2 separate regions of the Homo sapiens genome follow, and region 2 is linked to region 1. Evidence: promoter capture Hi-C in 16 types of primary human blood cells and fetal thymus (Javierre and others, 2016). All regions are on one chromosome and are shown on one strand. The core of a region is centred on a gene start or on the middle of the fragment in contact, and the rest is flanking DNA. Distances in the headings are between cores, read along the strand shown.

Region 1 (7,166 bases), core at 1,589-4,088:
CGAAGATAGCCTCTGGAAACAGGAGGCAGAGCCAAGCTGCCCCGTCTGCCGCCCCCCACCCCCCAGCTTCTTCGCGGGCCTCCCTTTCCTAAACTCTGAAATGCAGGCGTGGGACAAGGCAGCTCCGAGTCCTGCTCAATGGTTTTGTGACATCCTCTGGGAGGATCTGCACCGGCCGTGAGCTCTCACAGGGAGCTCCGTCTTCACGCATGGGAACAGCTTCATCTCGTTTCCGTACGTGCCTTGGCCCCGGCTGCCCCTACGACCCCCGCCCGGCCAGCATGCTCAGGGAGGCTGAGATGGGACTTACCGCCACCATTTTTGTAGCACAGGTAGGGGAACCGCCAGACGTTGGCCAGGTCCACAGCAAAGCCAATGACGGACAGGAGAAAGTCGATCTTCTTGCCCCAGGTCTCCCGATCCTGGGCCTCCACGGGGCTCTGCCGCGGGTTGGTGAGGGTGGAGCTGGTGAGCTGCACTCCGTTCTGCTCCTTGACAAGGATGAGCTCCACCTCCTTCGGGCCCACGGCATTGGGCTCCTTAGCCGGGGCCACCACGGAAGACATGAGTCCCACGGAGCATTTGCTCTTACTCATGGGCACACTGGGAGTTGAGGAATTCTGTGCTTCTTCCCTCTTGGTCTTCAGCCAATATGAAAAATAAACACACAACAGGAACGCAACAATTCAGCAGCCAGGGCTAGGGACATACCTGGTGCGGAGGGCAGAGCCCCGAGGCATTCACGGGCATTCCTCTGGGAAGGGATGGGTGCGTTCTCAGCGCCTGAGATGGTACAGCTGGGGCACGGGAGCTGGGAAGTGCCAGCCCTCACCACAGGGCTGGGGCACTGGCCCATGGAGGCCTCAAGACAGACACTCTGGTTTGCTCCTCCTTCCCCTGCACCCCTCCCCACTCCTATCAAAGTGCAAGGCTGTGTGAGCTCTAGCGTGGCTTTCTACTAACAATGCATGGATATCACTTCCACCTTCCCCCACACTTCCAGAGAGCAATTTTACAATCTTCTAAGAGCATTCAATAATGTCTTCATGACTGTTCATCTGTATTCTTTTTTCTTTTTTTTTTCTTTTTTAACATGAGGTCTCGCTCTGTCACCCAGGATGGAATACAGTTGTGATTACAACTCACTGCCTCAACCTCCTAGGTTCAAGTGATCCTTGCACCTCAGCCTCCTGAGCAGCTGAGACTACAGGTGTGCACCACAGCACCGGCTAAGTTATTTTTGTGTGTGTTTTTTTGTTGTTGTTGTTGTTTTTTTGTAGAGACAGGGTCTGACTATTGTTGCCAAGGCTGGTTTTGAACTCCTGGTCTCAAGCGATCCTCCTGCCTCAGCCTCCCAAAGTGCTGAGATGACAGGCATGAGCCACCAAGCCTGGGCTTGTATTGTTTATACTCAGTAATAAAGAGCAAAATTTATATAAGCAAAATCAGCCACTGTAAAGAGAGTTTAGACATAACCATCACAACTGCTTCCTCAAAAAGTGTCTGTACAAGCCACATCCACCTAGGGCAGGTGGCACCACCCCGCGTGAGAGAGCTGGGCGGAGGATGGACAGGGCTTCATCGCGGGAACTAGCTCCTGGGCCAGCAGGGTAACCCGGGAAATCCTGTCCAAACGGCTACATAAACCCCCCTGCAACGCTGAGCAGGAGAGCAGGAGCGTCTACACCGCCCCAGCCAGGGCGACTTCTGTCATTTGGATCCAGCAGCAGCGTGTTTCAGTCGAGCGCACGCACACACAGACACACAGACACACACAGACTCACAAACACACATACACACTCACACACACACAGGCGAGCACATACACTTACACACATACACACTCACACTCACACAGGTGCGCACACACACACAACGACTGAAGCAGGTCGCAGGTGGAGGCTCTAACAGGCAACTTTCCCTGCATCCAAGTTTGCACAAAACCTCACCCATGAGCTATCACGAGCTATGCCACGCACCCGGTGACAACCTCAACCGGCACGACCCCTCCGGTGGGTAAAACACCCGACGAAGGGGTTCCGCGGCGCGAGCAGGAGGCCGCGTTGGGAGAGGGCGTCGGGTGCGGAGCTCGCGAGTCTCCGGCAAGCCGCCGCCGCCCTGGGGCCACCTGACCCCGCTCCTGAACGCGGGGCCTCAGAGGCGAGTTTTGGGTCTACACAGCAAAATGTGGCCCGTTAGAAAGCGTCCTTCCTCACCGCGCCCAGAACAAGAAGCGGCGCTGCCTGGCGAGTCCTCGCCCGGCCTCCCCGCCCTGCCCAGAGCACCAGCGCGCAGCCCGCGCCCGCCACCACCCCCAACACAGACAAAGCCCCCGCGAGATGGAGCGGCGGTGTACAAAACCCACTCCGATCGGATCTGGGATGCGCCGCACCCCTAGTAGGGTTAAGTTCCACGAGAAGAAACCAGGACCCCCGAGTCACAGCCATAGACACCCACGCGTCCCCTAAGCCGGTGACTGCACCAGGTGCCCACCCGGTTCTGAGCCTGGAGCGGGGCCAGGGGCAGCCCTGCACCCTCCTCGCGCCTCGGACGGCCTCAGGGTCCCATGTGGCGCTATCGGGGGGCGCTCGGCACCCGCGACTGTTGGCGACTTTGGAGACGGCGCGGTCTGCGGGACGCGGGGACCCCAGACTGTGCCCGGTCCCCGGCCCCCGCCCCTGCGCCCCACTTCGGGGTCTGCGGAAGGAGCGGGGCGCCCCGATGCCGCGAGCGACGCTGGCCTCACCTGGCCGCCCGGGCCTGGGCTTTGCACGCGAGTCCTGGCGCCGAGAGCGTTCCGCGAAGCCTCCCCTCCCGCTCCGCAGCGCTGGGCGGTCTCAGCCTCGGCCTCGGGCTCTTATCCAGTAGACAGGGTCCGCCCCGCCCCGCCCTCCCGCCGACGGGGTCGCCCTCGCGTCCTGGCTCCTCCTCCTCACCTCCCCGGGCCGCGCCCCCGCCCCCGCCTCCCGGACGCAGATGGCTGGGAGCAAGCGGCGGCCACGGCTCCACTGTCCTGCGCGTCCCGGAGCCTCGGACACGGGGTGCGGGGGCCTGGGGGTCCGAGACGTCGCGGATCTAGACGGGCGCCTTCCACGCGGGAACTGTCTGGGCCGCCCTGCGCCCTCGCCCGCACCCCTGGGGGCTGCCCCGGGCACCCGCTATCTTCGGACGCCCAGGGCTGGCGGCTCCCAGCTGGACGGGGAGGGAGCCGAGCGGCTGCGCGCGGGGAACTGCTGGGACCCCGTCGGGCCGACCCTTCCCTCCCTCCCCATCAGGGGCCCCTACGGTGGCCCCGCGCTCTGGGGACCACGTCCCTCCCACCCCGCCGCTCCACGCTCTGACCAGCGGGCTCGGGACCCCGCCGAGGACTCTGCACGCTTCCCGGCGTGCGGGCTGCGGAGACGCGGGTCCTTCCGTGGCCTTGGGGTCTCCGCGACCTCGAGGCGACCGAGGTCCCCTAGGCCTAGTCCCCGCCTTGCCGGCATCTAGTGCGCCTGCATCGGAACCGAGGGGCCCGCCTCGCACTCGCCTAAGAAAACCATTTCCCGGGACGGGCCTGGAAAGCCCTGGCGGTTGGTATCCGGCTCCAGGGCCGAATGGACTCCGAGGCTTTCCTTCCGAGATGCCCGGGCGGGATTTCTTCCATTCAGCGCGCGGAGGAATGGAGCCCCCAGGCCGCCAAGGCCCAGGATGTCCAGGTCCTTAGAAGGCACCGAGGTGAGTGGCCGCGCCCAGCTCTGTGCGTCGCCCCTAGGGTCGCCCGAACCCCGGCGTTCCTCCCCGTGTACCCTCGATGCTCCCGTGAGCACCCTGCCCTGGGCGTCCAGGCGAGCCCTGGGGCTCTCCAGCCATTCCAGCCTGCAGCCCGCGCTCAGCAGTGAGGGAGGCAGGGACCCTTGGTGCCTGACTCCGCAGTACCCGCCCGCAGCGCGGTGCCCCACCCCCTGCGCCCGCCCCGCACTCCCCGCACACCACCACTCCCCTCCCCGCCCCCCGCTCCCCCGCTCCCCGGCTCCGGGGCTGGCACCCAGGCAGAAGGCACTCAGGGCTGTGACTTCACGCTGAGTTGGAATCAAGTGGGAGCCTAGTGACCCCCTGGGGCTGCCATGACAAAAAACTCCACAGCCTGGGGGCTCACACAGAAGCCTTCAGTTCTAACGGTTCCGGTGTCCCGAGGCCAAGGCCTGGCCGACTCTGTGTCTGGTGAGGGCCGCTTCGGGGTTGCAGACAGTTCTCTCCCTGTATCTCCCCACGCTAGGGGCTGGGGAGAGCTCTCCGGGGTCTGTTTTATGAGGGCACTGGTCCCATTCCTCAGGGTGGAGCCCTCCTGGCCTGACCACCTGAAGGCCTCCTGACACCACCTCCCATCAGGGGTGGGACTTCATCGCCAGGGAGGTGAGGGGACTTCAGGAGAGGGGGATGTGCCACCTCGAAGCTGTAGTGTGTCAGTGGCTGCCACAGAAGGGATCTCTCTACCCCTATTATCTCCATGGCACAGGTTTCAATAAAAAGGAGTGAGCCAGGGCTTGGCCCCAGAGCAGCAGGGTTGAGGAAACAGTCTCCCAAGGAAAAGACTTTGCAGGTGACTAAGGGAGGCTGTTAAATAAAACACACAGAGAGAATGGATGTTCAGGTATATTAAAAATACACAGGCCAGGAGTGAGGGCTCACGCTTGTAATCCCAGCACTCTGGGAGGCCGAGGAAGGAGGATCTCTTGAGGCCAGGAGTTTGAGACCAGCCTGGGCCACATGGCAAAACCCTGACTTTGAAAAAAAAAATTAGCCAGGCATGGTGGCCCACACCTGTAGTCCCAGCTACTGGGGAGGCAGAGGTGGGAGAATAGCTTGAAGCTGGGAGGTGGAGGTTGTAGTGAGCTGAGATTGCGCCATGGGCCACAGGATGAGACCCTGTCTCGAAACAAAACAACACACAGGCAAACAGCGTTTGGGAAGGGATTGCAAGCGCTGCAGGAGCGCAGAATTGTGACCCAAAGCTAACAGGGTACAGGCAGGAAGGTGCAGGGACTAGAGGTCACACAGATCCAGGCAGCCACATCCTTACTGACCAGTAGCACACAGAGAATGCACCTGCCACACTCAGGAGGGGCCACTGAGTGATCACACGCATGTAACCTGCACTCTGCCAAGACAAAGAGCATTCCTCCACCCCTGCCTCAACCCCGACTTCCAACCACATGAATTAGGATAAAGGAGCTTTGGGTGCTCTAAGAACAAACTAACTGCGGGAGTTGGGCTCATGGATGACACAGAGAAAGCGCAGCTGCCAGACCCATGGGTCTCCATCCTCCCACAACAGGAATGCTCCGTGAACTGTGCAGGTAGAAGCAGTGTGGTTATGAGCTGATCAGACCTGATCAAACGGCCGACCTTTGCATGCTTGGAACTTTGCCCTAAATGCCAAGTCGGCTTTATTATCATTGTGGTTGCTGCTATGGCTGCTGTGGGCTCAGGGCGTTGGGTGCAGGCAGGTGGAGCCCCCCTGCCTCTGCACTTCCTGCCCATGCTCGGCACCTCTCCCCACTGGCTGGGACCGCAGCTGCAGAGCCCACAAGGAGCCCCTGGCCACTGACTGCTGTCTCCAAAGCAACCTTGCCCCACGGGTCCCCCCCTCCTTGGGTGCTGCCTCCTGGGAGGCCCTCAGTGCTGGATGTTGCGCCGTGTCTCGCCTGATTTGGAAGACAGCGTGGATGCTCCCCCCATGAGTGCTGTATCTGAGAGGGGACAAGGACAGTGGCAGTGAGATGACAGTCATTTACCTGCCTGCGTATTTACTATATTGAGGGTGTCCTGTGTGCTTTCAGAGGAAGTCCCAGGGAGCCCAGCTCAGACTTTAAAGACCCTGACCTCTCACTGGTGCTGGGAAGGCCCTGGGGGTAGGGGGCTTGGGGAGGGCAAGGGTGAGGGGACCAGTAGGCAGGAGTGGCTTTTGTCCAGGGGTGTGGGAGGTCAGATCCCAGACCTTGTCTGTCCAGGTTCTGAGAATGATGGAAGGCGCTGGCTCCAGGCAGGAGGCCCTGCTCACTGCTGCACCCCTGTGCCCTCCCCGGGGGCCACCTCAGGAGGAAGATAGTTTCCTCTCGCATGGCAGGGACAGCAGTACACTTCCAATGTCTTCTCTCAGAGCTGTATCATTTTCCGGCTCACTGCTGGTTTTAGTCACAGACATCTTGATGGTCTTGCCACTGCACAGCATGTCACAGTGGTCTGCCACACTGATGACATCAGGCTGAATCAACCTGGGGAGCAAAAAATGAAAAATGCCAAGATGCCTTGGTAAGACACGTGCTTGCTAAAAATTGAAAGAGAAAATAACACATTTTCAAAACCTGCCACCTTGGTGAACTTTCTGTGGGTCCATTGGTCTGATTGGTCAAAATATATATCCAAAATGAAAGAAAACACGCTGTCTCTGGCAAGCAAGACTACCACTAAGAAAGAAGTATCATACCTGGTGAGGCTCTTCCGGTTTGCAAGGTGAGGTGCAAGACACTCGGGGATGCTTCTCTGGCCTGTTTTGTGTTCTTCATAAAGCGTTTGGTTTTGAGTAGGGCCCAGAGTAAGAAAGATTCTGCTGCTGGTCTGGATGGGCAAACTGCTGCCCCAGGAGGCCACACAATCTGGTGTTGTTCTCCGACTTTAGCTGGCATCACAGTCACCTACATAAACCTTTACATGCATAGGAGGCACAGATCACCTCGCTCCATCCTTAGAGACGCAGGTTCAGTAGGTCTGAGGTGGGACCTGAGGACCTGCGTTTCTAGAAAGTTCTCAGGTGACACTGACACTGCTGGCCCAGGAACCACACTTTGAGAACACTGATCTGGCAGAACCAGTGGGAATTGGAGGGTCTGTGGCAGACGGAGATGTTGTAGGCAGCGCAGAAAATAACAGTTGAATAAGAGCTGAACGCTCTCCTGAAAATACGTCCTCTCCTTTTGAGTAAGAGCAGCCCTGAGCCATAGCAGAAACTCAGGGAGCTCTGTTACCATAGAAGCTGAGCGGCCCAGCAGAAGCTATTTGTTATCGGACCCACAGAGGTTGTGTAGACAGCATCCTGCCGTCCTCAGGTGGAATGTTTACGACACAAGGCTTGAGCAGGTCTGGAAGGCGCGGTAAGTTCCATGAACAAGCACCCACTCTTGCTG
Region 2 (7,106 bases), core at 170-2,669, 210 kb after region 1:
TCCTTCCTTCCCTTCCTCCCTCCCTTCTTTCTTTCTCTCTCTCTCTTTCTCTCTTTCTTTTCCTTCTTTCTCTTTCTTTCTCTCTTTCTCTCTCTCTCTCTCTTTCTTTTTCTTTCTCTCTCTCTCTCTTTCTCTCTTTCTTACTTTCTTTATTTCTTTTTGACAGAGTCTCACTCCAGGCTGGAGTGCAGTGGAGGCATGATCTCGGCTCACTGCAACCTCCGCCTCCTGGGTTCAAACGATTCTCCTGTCAGCCTCCCGAGTAGCTGGGATTACAGGTGTGTGCCACCATGCCTGGCTAATTTTTGTGTTTTCAGTAGAGACAGGGTTTTGCCATGTTGGCCAGGCTGGTCTCGAACTCCTGACCTCAGGTGATCCACCTGCCTTGGCCTCCTAAAGCGCTGGGATTACAGGTGTGAGCCACTGCACCTGGTCCGCTGTATATTTCAAAATAGCTAGAAGAACTGGAATCTTCCCAACAGAAAGAAAGAGTAGATGTTCCAAGTGATGGATATACTACATACCCTGATTTGATCACTACATGCTGTGTGCACAATCAAAATATCACAACTGCCCTGTAAATATGTACAATTATTATGTATCAATAAACACTTTTCAAAAAATTTTAGATTTGATTACAAAGACATTAAACCCTGTGACACTTCAAAAAACACCATAACAAAACAAACAAAATCCAACAAAAACCGGAAGCACGCTGTGACGGTTTTGACATCTGATGTCCTCAGTGTCTAGAGGTCTTACGGGAAGAAGGAAGGCGCAATCGAATGAAGTTAGATGTGGAAATAGAATCACAACAACCCAGGAAGATGCAATTTGAGTTTTAACGATGAATTTAGCAATTTGCTTAAAAATAGTAATAGTCAATGTTGGCAAATATTCAGAGGAATATGCGTTTTCAGATACTAGTAGCAAAAGTATCAGCATAATTTTGTTCTGGAGAGGGGTTTGGTAATATGCACCAGAAGCCTTCCAATGTGGCTGACCTAGCAATGCTGCCTTTAGGGTGATAAACTGGCAAGTGGTCAAAATCCGCTCTGTGGCCTGTTGCTGCACGGCCAAGAGCTCGGAATGGTCCGTTACTGTGAAAACGATTAGCGAATAAGGAAGAGTGTGCGGTGGAGACCATCTTCCCCGTCCCCGCCCCCAGCACAATACTGACTCTCTAGCTGTCTGCAGAGCACGTTTGCAGACCCCTGATCTATGTGGAGGAGTAAACAAGTAAACAACAAAACGGTCCAGGTGTTCATTTTGCAGCATTTAGAAAATGTTGGTAAAAATAAAATAAAGAAATAAAGGGCCTAAATGTCCGTCTTTCCAACCTCATGGAAGTAGTTCAATCGATTCTGGCAAATGCAAATCCTGTCGTGTTCGGCAGCCGCTACAGGTAGACAGTGCTGCTGAAGAACTTCCAGTAACATGAGAAAACACTCATGAGAGGGTCGTGCTAAGTGAGAGCATTAAGTTATACAGACGACTTTATTCCAATTTTAATTTGAAGGTGTGTAAATAGAAAGAAATGGAAAGAAAGAAAATACTTGAACATCTTAATTACTGGGTGTTCATCCCGGGTGTGGGGAAGCAGGGGCTTCGGGTGAGGGTGGTGGGGGGTATGAGGAGTTTGGAGGTGGGTGGGAGGGGATCCCTAAAGTGACAGAGTCCTGGGAGCCCAGGGCTTGGAAGCTCACCACCTGGCAGTGCAGCCATGGGATCCAGACAGCTTCGCTGGACAGACGCACCGTGAGGGCTGGGGTGGGTCCTGGGGAGGGCAGGGCCAGAAAAGGGTGGGGCTGGGGAGAGTGGGGTCAGGGGAGGGCGGGGCTGGGGAGGGATGAGGCCTGGGGAGGGGTGAGGCCTGGGGAGGGTAGGGCCTGGGAAGAGTGGGGGATGGGGAGGGGTGAGGCCTGGGGAGGGTAGGGCCTGGGAAGAGTGGGGGATGGGGAGGGGTGAGGCCTGGGGAAGGTGGGGCTGGAAGAAGGTAGGGCTGGGGAGGGGTGGGGCTGGGGGAGGGATGAGGCCTGGGGAGGGGTGAGGCCTGGGGAAGGTGGGGCTGGGGAGGGGGGGGCCACAGAGGGCAGGGCAGGGGTAGGGCAAGGCTGGGGAGGGATGATGCCTGGGGAGGGGTGGCCTGGAGATGTCAGGGCTGGGGAGGGTAAGGCTGGGGAGGGATGAGGTCTGGGGAGGGGTGGGGCTGGGGGAGGACCGGCCTGTGGGGCAGGGCCTATGGGGGCATGGGGCCTGGGTCCTCGGGGCCTGGGACAGTGTCACTCTTCCCTTCCTTGGCTCATCCTGTGACCCGAAGAGCCTCTGCCAGGCCCTGGGCTCCTGCTGAGCTCCTGCTGAGAACAAGGCAGCCTGGTTTTTCTTTGATCTCCTGCCCCGAAGGTTGATGAGGGGATGGAGGGTCTGGAGCAATGGCCCAGACAGGGTGGAAGTTCCCTGGGGAAGAAGGGGGTGCCTGGAGTGGGTGGGTGGTCAGGGACCTTTCGAGAGGAGGGGTCTCAAGGTGAGGGCTCCTCAGGCCCCCGAATGTGGGGCAGGGTGGGTGCACAAGCAGAGGCTGTGGGGGAGGTGCTGGGCAAGGGAAGGGCAGGGCCCATTCTTAGGAGGAGCCTGAGAGTGGGACAAGAACAGATAAATTCTCAGGGAGAATGGGGTCCCTCGCCATGGGGGGTCCTGGAACAATCCATGGCGGCCTGTCCCTCTGCCTGCTCCCACCACAGTTCCGTGCTTCTCCAGAGGGCCAGGCTGGCCATGCTGTCCCTAACCCACTCCAGGGACCACATGAGTGTAACAGGATGTAGGAGAGAGCCAGGGCTTGGAAATCCATGATCTGGCCGTGTGGCCATGGGATCTGGCCAGCCTCGCAGGATGCTGTGAGGTGGGGCGAGGGCCGGGTGCAGGGAGGATGCTGTGGGTCTCCCAGGTGCCCTGTGCAGGACAGCAGCCAAGTGCTCCCAGGGGCCACCCTATGTCACACCCAGTGTGGGGGGCCCTGAGGGCAAAGGGTCCAGGGGAGGATATCAGGAGTGCCCTCCCTGTTGGAGGCTGGACTGGCCCTCCTTCCCCACAAGTGGGTTTTAGGTTGGGGCAGGAGGGAGGGACTTAGGAATGAACACGATCAGAGTAGACTCTGCTCCTGCTTCCTTGGGCCCCCACCAGCCTGGTGACTTGCTGGGGGGACACGAGGAAGATGGGGCGTGGCTGAGGCTTGGGCGGTGGGGAAGAGCCAGCTTGGGCCGGGTGTCTCTCTGTGAGGGGAGGGACCCTGGCAGGCCACGCCGAGGCCTCACAAGGAACTTGTGGTTGATGCTTTCCAAAACAGGCCCTTGGCATTTGGGTGACAGCCAGGCAGAGCTAGCTTGGTGGTGGAAGCCACTGACAGCGCCGGTTTCCCGATGAAAACTTGACGTTCGTGTTTTGAGAGCTAGCTGGGGAGACTGGGAGCTGGGTCCTCTCGGAGTGCCAGGTCAGCCGATGGCGTGTGGCCTTACGTGTGGGGTGGGGTCCCCTGTCCAGGGGTCTGAGCTTCTCACGCCTCTGGGCCCTCCGTGCTCCAGCGTTCTCAGGTTCTTTTTTTTTGGGGGGACCTTGTGGGGGCCACACATCGCGCCTGACTCCCCAGACGGATGGACCTGGCTGCTGCCTCCCCGTCCCCGGGAAGCGGCTGGCCAGTGCATCAGGGAACACAGGTCTCTTTCCTCTGTCTTCCTCCATCAGGCTCCGGAAAAGCTTTCCCCAGAGAAGACACCGGACAGCAGGGGCCGCCTCCCGTAGCTCTTGTGACCCAGCCTGTTTCTGCATCTGAGCTGCGTCCTCTGGGTGGGGGTGTCTGCACCTGGGGTGTGTGTGAGAGGATGAGGGAGGGAGCGTGCCTGTGCCTGTGTGCGTGCAACTGTGTTCCTGCAGGCTGTGCCTCTCTGTGCACGTGTGTGCAGCCATGCGTGCGTGTTCACACGTGTGGAGTGTGTGCGTGCGTCCGTGCCTGGGTGTTGCGGGTGGTGAGGCTGGCAGAGCGTCCTGACCCCTCGGGCCCCAGGCCTTGTCCCTCTTCTCCGTGTCCCAATCTTCCTTCAACCGCCCGCCCCGCCCCTGCCTTTGGTGGCCTGGAGTCCCCACCAGCTCTGGGTACTAGGGCGCCGGGCAGCGCGGGAACTAACGGGCTGAGTCTGTGGGGTCGGGATGACTGAAAACAGGCCCTGTCTTCGGTTTAGGCTCAGGCGGAAACCCCCCGGGGGCCTCTGGGGGCTGCGGTCGGTGCCAGGGGTCCCGGGCAGCTGCCTGAACGCGCACAGCGGCTCCTGCCCCGCAGCCTCCGCCCCGCGCCCGCGTCCTCGGGCCGGCAGCGCCCCCTGGTGCCGCCTCGGGTCTGTGCAGGGCCGGGCGGGCTGCGCTGAGCATCTGCGGACGCCTCCGTGGGTGACGGAAGACAGAGGGGCTGACCAGGTCTTCTACAGGTCAGTGGGCGATCAACAGCTGGACGCGTAGCAGGGGGTATCCGGGTGGCCTAAAAGAATTCAGCAAGGCCGACTGCAGGCCGAGGGTCACCAGGAACTGACCTGGAAGGAGTGGATGTGGCCGCCCCAGGACCACCCTGTTCCAGGTGCCCGGCCCTGGCCATGGAGCCCTTGGACTTATTTGTTTCTTTAGCTGCAGCGAGCGGGGTCCCGGTGCTGAGCAGAAGACCCCGTGCTGCGGTCCCTGTGCTCCCTGGCAGCTGTGGGAGGAACTCTGACCTTTGGGGCCCCTGGGCACCTACCCTGTTGGTTCCCGCTCTGGGCTGCCGAGGGCTGGGTGCTGTGCTGTGTGAAAGGCCGTATGGGCGGGGCTTCTGTGTCCCCTGAGTCAGGCACTGCACCCTTATGCTCCCCTCAGGGGCCACACCACCTGCAGTGGTCCCTGGAGAGCAGAGGAAAGGTCCCCCTGGGCCAGATGGGGGCAATTGGTGGGCGGGGCCTGGCTCTACAGGAATGGGGGACCAGGGGCTTTCCCTCCAGGAGTGGTAACAGATCAAAGAACATCTACCCCAAACCAGACCGGACTCAGCACACACCTTATCCAGAGCTCTAAAGACACTAGAGTGGGGAGTAGAGAGAGAAAGAGACCGACAGAGACAGACAGAGGGAGAGATTCAGAGCAAGGTGGGGCAGGGGTGGCAGAGGAGGAGAGACCCCAGCTCTTCTCACCTCACAGACCTCTCGGGCCAGCTTGGCCCCACCCCCACCATCCACCCTGCAACTCCACCCCCACCCGCCCCCTGGGCTGAGCAGAGACCTCTGGGACATGGTCACCTCCACACAGAGCCTGTTCCAGAAGGCAGGACCCCGTCCCTGCCCCAGCTTCTGGCTGGCAGGGCTGTGTCAATGACTTCTGGCCAAGCGACCCCAGGAAATGGCATTCCATGGGGTCAGGTGGCTCCTCAGTGCCTCTTCCCGGCTTTTCATGTAAAATCATGGCAGGTGGCATCAGGCAGTGTCCCACACCCCTACAAGCTCAGGGGGAAGCCACCTTTACCCACAGGGCCAAAATGTGGACGCAGGCTCCCCTCTGGAGTGGACGCGCTGAGGGCACACCCAGGCCCTGGTCCCCTCAGCCGCATCAGAGCAGCACACAGGGCCGGGTGAGGGTGGCCTCCACCCCTCCACCACACCAGGCACAGCTCGGAGCCAGGCCAGAGAGAGGGTGTCAGCTCTGCAATGCATTGAGTAGTTTCCACCCGTGGCTGTGAGGAGCAGCATTTCCTGACAGAAGTTTCTAGCACATGTGTGTTGGCGAGGATGCGGTCGTCTACTTGCTGGGCACACACTGTGCCAGGCTGAGGGGAGGACCCCAAAGATGTGCAGCCCCGCAAACCTGTGAGTGCCGCCTTAGACGGCAACATGATGACAGGTCTGGAGCGGGGAGAGTCTCCCGGGTCACCCACCTGCACCCTGTGCTGTGCCAGGTAGTGGCCCCCCCAACCCCAGATTCATATCCCTCCCCACACCTCAGAATGGGACCCTATCTGGAAATAGGCATTGCAGACGTGATTCATTAAGACGTGGTCATCCTGGAATAGGGAGGCCCTGATCTAGTATAACCCGTGTCCTTATGAGAAGAGGAGAACGCAGGGAGGAGGGCGCCATGAGCAGAGAGGCCCAGCGGGGCCAGGAGCCCACTGAGGGCCACCAGGGGCTGCCGGCCACACCAGATGCTGGAGGGCAGCCGGCCCGACTCTCAGCCTCCAGGAGGCACCAGCCCAGTTCACAGCTACGGATTCCAGACCTTGGCCTCCAGAACTGCGAGACAGGCGTGCACTGTTGCAAGCAGCAGGTGTGGGTGGTTTGCTGTGGCCACCCAGGAAACTCACACAGGTCCTCACTGCAAAGACAATGTCCTTGCAAGGAGGAGGCAGGAGAAGGCGGCCGGTGACCGAGGATGGAAGTGGAGAGAAACTGGAAGACGCTGTGCGGCTGACTCTGCGAGTGGAACCAGCTGCTTCTGTGGAAACTCCTTCGAAGAAGGCTTTTGGGAACCACCTCTGTTTAGGGACAGACTGTGGTGTGACTTATTTCCTGTACAGCAGCTAAGGTGACCCTCAGTCCTTCACATTCCCACTGCATGTCTGGGTTTACAGATCCATCAGCTCTGGCCCGGCCTGCAGGTGCGGGCCGCTTAGGCACTGCCCGATGCCCTCAGCTCCTCCATCCCCTCCGGTCCACCCTGGGGCTGCCCCCGTACTTCCTAAACATGCGGCCCCTCCTGTGCCATGGCCCATAACCGAAGCCACTTGCCCAGGAGGCGCTGTGGGCAGAAGGTGGGGGCCCATGGTACTCTTAGGGGCTCCCAAAGTGCTTCCATTTCTTTTAAAATAAGAAAAATATAAACTTTTAGGTCAAAACAATGTTTTACTCTAAAAAATAATGTTTCATCTTTATCCTGTGGGTGTCAATGCGCACAGTGTTCCCTGTCCGTGGTGTTGGGGGAACTGTAAGTCACAGTGTGGCTCTCCCCAGAATGTGCCTTCCACCTGCGGTCCCCACCTCACTGTCCTATCCTGGCAAGGGCTTCTCAACTCCCAAACCTCAGCTGAGTCTCTCTTCGGTGCC

The links. The method cuts DNA at HindIII sites, captures the fragments that hold promoters and counts their contacts. A CHiCAGO score of 5 or more calls a contact.
Region 2: a contact is called between a fragment that was not itself captured here and the fragment with the promoter of SLC6A3 in region 1, in 5 of 17 cell types (neutrophils, naive B cells, total B cells and 2 more). The highest score is 7.3, in neutrophils.

Annotation. Positions count from the first base shown.
Region 1 is chr5:1,442,602-1,449,767 of GRCh38, forward strand. It overlaps SLC6A3 (solute carrier family 6 member 3), which reads right to left and starts at 2,839. Exons shown (of 15, transcript NM_001044.5): 1 at 2,747-2,839; 2 at 311-641. The coding sequence starts at 596. RefSeq lists an enhancer at 3,477-3,976. The HindIII fragment of the contact is 13,596 bases long and covers 1-7,166 here.
Region 2 is chr5:1,649,711-1,656,816 of GRCh38, forward strand. No RefSeq gene overlaps it. Among named protein-coding and RNA genes, the nearest start is that of MIR4277, 56 kb to the right of the region's middle. The HindIII fragment of the contact is 4,657 bases long and covers 1-3,748 here.